Linked DNA regions of Homo sapiens: region 1 is linked to region 2. Evidence: promoter capture Hi-C in human tissues and cell types (Jung and others, 2019). All regions are on one chromosome and are shown on one strand. Each heading gives the region's core, a stretch centred on a gene start or on the middle of the fragment in contact. The rest is flanking DNA. Distances are from core to core; before and after follow the strand shown.

Evidence for each region. Contacts are between HindIII fragments. The study calls those that stand out against the background at their distance.
Region 1: a fragment that was not itself captured here is called in contact with the fragment with the promoter of ZNF317 in region 2 in 1 of the 25 tissues and cell types used here (spleen).

The regions. Positions count from the first base shown.
Region 1 is chr19:9,552,653-9,555,352 of GRCh38, reverse strand. No RefSeq gene overlaps it. Among named protein-coding and RNA genes, the nearest start is that of ZNF426-DT, 15 kb to the right of the region's middle. The HindIII fragment of the contact is 5,877 bases long and covers 1-2,700 here.
Region 2 is chr19:9,138,942-9,141,764 of GRCh38, reverse strand. It overlaps ZNF317 (zinc finger protein 317), which reads right to left and starts at 1,368. Exons shown (of 7, transcript NM_020933.5): 1 at 1,173-1,368. RefSeq lists enhancers at 1,346-1,555, 1,606-1,705. The HindIII fragment of the contact is 13,678 bases long and covers 1-2,823 here.

The DNA.
Region 1 (2,700 bases), core at 100-2,599, 410 kb before region 2:
GTATTTGCTCTGTATAACTTGATTCTGTACTCTCGGCTTTTCTTGATGTACCTAAATTTTTACACTCATAGCCTTGGACATATTCCTAACTAAATCCAAGCACACTTTTCATCACGTTCAACTTCCAGGTTATTTTTATTTTTATTTTATTTTTTGAGATGGATTCTTGCTCTGTCACCCAGGCTGGAGTTCAGTGGCGCAATCTCAGCTCTCTGCAACCTCTGTCTCCTGGGTTCAAGTGATTCTCTGCCTCAGCCTCCTTGGTAGCTGGGTCTACAGGTGTGTGCCACCACCCCTGGCTAATTTTTGTGTTTTTTAGTAGAGAAAGAGTTTCACCATGTTGGCCAGGCTGGTCTCGAACTCCTGACCCAAGTGATCCACCCGCCTCGGCTTCCCAAGTGCTGGGATTACAGGTGTGAGCCACCATGCCTGGCCAACTTCCAGGTTATCTAAATGCACTTTGCATAAGGAGAAATAATCACACTGTAGAAGGTTTTTCTTTACCTTTTTGGTAGCTGGTCTAAGAAAGGTTTTACAAGAAATTATCGAGATAATTTCCTGTATTGCCTTTATTAAGTTTTTTATCACTTAAAAAAAAAAACCTGGTTGGTTGGGCATGGTGTTTCATGCCTGAATCCCAGCACTTTGAGAGGCTGAGGTGGGAGGATCACTTGAGTTCAGGAGTTCGATACCAGCCTGGGCAACATGATGAAAGCCCATCTCTTAAAAAAAAAAAAAAAAAAAAAGACACACATACAAAAATTAGCTGGGTGTGGTAACGTGTGCCTGTAGTCTCAACTACTGGGGAGGCTGAGGTGGGAAGATCACTTAGGCCTGGGAGATCAATGCTGCAGTGAACTTTTGTGCTGCTGCACTCCAGCCTGGGCCACTGAGTGAGACGCTGTCCCCCATCTACCCCTGAAATAAATAAAAAGAATCAACAAAAAACTCTGGGCTTTAAAAGGATTCATTTTTTCCTAGTAACTCTATTTACTCCTACTAATGACTTTTGATTATCACTGTATTTACATGGATTACTAACAAGTGAGCTGTTATCCTGTTTCAATCAAATGTTTTGAGCCTTCTAACATCTTTGACAAACTTCCCCAAATGCAAATTCTTTTTATTTTATTTTATTTATTTTTTTTGAGACAGAGACTCGCTCTGTCTCCCAGGCTGGAGTGCAATGGCATAATCTTGGCTCATTGCAACTTCTACTTCCTGAGTTCAAGTGATTCTCCTGCCTCAGCCTCCCGAGTAGCTGGGATTACAGGTGTGCGCTAAGATGCCTGGCTAATTTTTGTATTATTAGTAGAGGTGGGGTTTCACCATGTTGGCCAGTTTGGTCTCGAACTCCCGACCTCAGTTGATCCTCCTGCCTCAGCCTCCCAAAGTGCTGAGATTACAGGTATGAGCCACCACGCCTGGGCTTCTTTTTTATTTTTTTGAGACGGAGTCATGCGCTGTTGCTGAGGCTGGAGTGCAATGTCATGATCTCAGCTCACAGCAACCTCCACCTCCCAGGTTCAAGCAATTCTCCTACCTCAGCCTCCTGAGTAGCTGGGATTACAGGCACCCACCACCATGCCCAGCTAATTTTTGTATTTTTTGTAGAGATGGGATTTAATCATGTTGGTCAGGCTGGTCTCGAACTCCTGACCTCAGTTGATCTACCTGCTTCAGCCTCCCAAAGTGCTGGGATTACAGGCATGAGCCACCACGCCTGGCCTGTTTTTATGACTTTTATTCAAAAGATTGTTCTTTACGCAAATGTTTTGTTTTTTTCAGAATTAAGAAACTGTTCTATCTTAACTTACCTCTAATATACCTCTGTTTGATAAAGTATATTTTTTGAGCCAGGCTCTCACTCCATCACCCAGGCTGGAGTGCAGTCATGCTGCTGTAGGACAAGCAAGCTTCAAATTGGGACTTAGCCAATGAGGGTTTTTGGCCTTGGCCAGGAAATAATTCAGGGTGAGCTGGTGGTAGAAGAAAGAAGCTTTATCGAAGAAGCAGTGTTTCAGCTCTGGTGGTGGTACAGCTTTGTGACTACTCCTATGGGAAACCTCATAGGCAGTGTGCTGAGAGTAGCAGCTCAGGGCAGTTTTGCGGTCATATTTATACCTACTTTTAATTACATGTAGATTAAGGGGCAGTTTATGCAGAAATTTGTAGGAAAATGGTGGTAACTTTGGTCATCGGGTCATTGCCATGGAAAGGGGTGGAAACTCCTGGGTGTTGCCATGGCAATGTTAAACTGACATGGCTCACTGGTAGGCGTGTCTTATGGAAAGCTGCTTCTGCCCCATCCCTGTTTTAGCTAGTCCTCAATTTTGTCCAGGTCTGAGCCCCACCTCTGGAGTCAAATTATTCCTCCTACCTCAGTGTGATCACTGCTCACTGCAGCTTCAGCCTGCTGGGCTCAGGCAGTCCTCCTACCTCAGCCTCCTGAGTAGCTAGAACTATAGACATGCACCACTGTGCCTGGCTAATGTTTAATGCCTGCCCCAGCTGCCTGGCTTCTCCCTGCTGTCCACGCCCCCTCCTATCTTGGAGCAAAGTCAGGCCAAGCCGGGTCACCATGAACAGCAGGATAGACATGAGAGAGTCCCAGGGGGAAAGGGGTAGGTCCCTGGTAAGGTTCCTCCTTCTGGCCAGGGACGGCCTGAAGGCTGGTGGCTGGGCTGCCAGTCCCATGAA
Region 2 (2,823 bases), core at 119-2,618:
GTAAATAAATGATGTAAATCAATTAACTGCAACTCAATGGCATAAAAACGACAATATTCCCAAAGTTCAAATATAGATTCACCACAACTTGAAAACAAAAGTCCAGTATGTGGAATTTGGTGAACTGACTAGAATTTAAGCCATGACATTCCTGAAAAAGAATGGCTAGGTGTAAGTACTTCATCTACAAGATATTTAGAAATCTCTAAATTACAAAGGTGTGCTTGAATCAATACAGAAAAAGATTGTTTCCAAAAATACTGAAGCGCCTGAGTTCATTCACAAATAATTACCAAAATTTAGGAAATATATTTTCTGGAAAAGATGTATACGCAGTCAAATCCACGGAGACAGTATTGGTGGGAGAGGAGGATGCAGTTTAGAAGAGGCACACAGCTTTCTGAGATTTAATAATCTCTTTCTTGGCCTGGTTTGTAAATTCGCTTTACTGTTGTCCTTTTAAGTGTGTGTAAGTCTGCGTGTGTGTGTAATCATACTTTTTTTGCATGTATGTCCTATTTTCCAGTGTTAAAATATGTGCATAGGAAAGGACACACCACAAAATAAGACGGTAAAATTCAATGGAAAATATTAATAATCACGATAAGTATAACTGGACTAACTCAAGTTAATTAACAAAATGTTGAACTGAATAGTAAATATACATATAGGCTATTTACAAGAGTCCACTAAAATTAAAATAAATAAAAAAGTGCAACCAGAAGGTCTTAAATTAAAAATATAAAAGGTACTCAAGGTAAGTGCTAATAAGAACACCAATGTGCTGACATTCACGAGATAAAATTGACTACAGCGCAGAAAGAAGGTGATTTCTCCTCGCGATGTCCAAATCCTGACGCCCCCCAATCTCCTGAACTGCCCCCAAACTCTTGAATTCACTTCAGCCGGGCTTTTCCGCCCCCACCAGAGACTTAGGGCTTTTCAGGATCAGGTGACCAATGCTTCTCTCATCACTAGCTGCAATGGTCCAATTTTATCCTTCGCGTCCCCAGCTTTTCATATCGCTGATCGCGAGATCTAAACGCACCCCTCGTCTGGATGCCTAGCTCTTTAGCCCCCGACCCTCGTACCCTCTTAGTCCTCACCGCCAGATAGGCCTCCCGTGACCCCTGGAACTGAGGGGGAGAAGGGTTAAGGAAAGCAGGGCTTACACGACTGGGAATAGGATCGGGGGAGCGGAGGTGACGGAAGCCGCCGCCGATGCGAAGAGAAGTTCATACGGGAGGTCCAGTCTGGCGTGGGGACACGAGGGGTCCCCAACAGGCCGAAAGAATTCGCCGCTGACCCCTCCTTGGCCCATGTGTCTCGGGGCAATCGACTCCAGAGAGTAATGGCTTCCGCTTCACTGCCGCCTTCCAATTCTCGCGGGACTTCATTGGCGGCGTCTAATACGGAAGCGGGGCGGAGAGGATGCTGGGAATTGTAGTTTTGAAGTTTGGATTGGCATGGCGGCCGTGCCCCGGTGGAATCTGACGGTCCAGCATATTTCTCCAATTTCTACTCAAGACTCAAATTTTCAACCACAACCCACAGCATTTTGTAGCCATCGTAGTGGTAAAGGTTGAATCAGGCAAGAATTGTCATCTACATGACACAACTGGGGGACATTTGCATGACGAGCAGAATATTTGAATTGCCTTAAATGCCTCTCTATAAACTGCTCGTATGTTGGAATGGAGAAAAAGTAATAGAAATTGTACAGCGAAGAAATTGGACAACATCTGGACCAGGTGATCAAATCAATATCACCAGTGAGGGTCAGATGGAGACCACGTGCCTCTGAATGACACCTTGGGAAGGGCGTAAAATCACCATCACCTGTGTGGTGTTCATCCTGCATATCTGCTATTTTGTATTTTTTGACCCACATCTTCCCATTTTCTTCCCCAACTGCCTCATTCTTTATTTCTGTGTATTTGAGCTGTCTCTCTTGATTAAAAAAAGTTCCTCATGTAAGTGACGTCATGCAATATTTTTCTTTTTGTGTCTGGCTTATTTCACTTAGCGTAATGTCCTCCAGGTCCACCCATCTTGTGATAAATGTCAGGACCTCCTTCTATTTCAAGGTTGAATAATATTCCGTTATATATATTATATGTTTTATACAATGGAATATATATTATATCATATTTATTATAATTATGTATTATGTGTATTATTACCGTATATTATATAATATATGCTAAAATAATATATGTATGTATGTTATATATATTATGGAATATATATTATATATAATATATATTATTTTAGCAGGAGGAGTCTGCATATACAAAATTCCAGAATCAGGCTGGGTACAGTGGCTCACACCTGTAATCTCAACACTTTAGGAAACCAAGGCTTCCCATGTAACCAGTAGGGGCAGAATTATATAGGCAGGAGAGACAGATGGTTAGTATTATCCAGGGCAGGTATTATAAAAGACAGAGAGAAGGAAATTTGAGGTTTTGGAAAATATATTATTGAGGGGATGGACCATGGTGCGTATATATATATATACACACACATATAAAATGTATGTATGGAATATATATGGATATAAGATATTCATATATAATATATAATCTATATTACATAACGTAATATATATTTCATAATACATAATATATACACCATAATATATAGCATATATACATATAATAATACATATAATATATAATATGTATTTCATATAGTATATTATATACATATATTACATATAATATATTACATGATATATAACATAATGGGAATATCTATTATGTAATAGGTATATATTTATATACAACATATTATATTAATATTTAATATAATATGAAATAT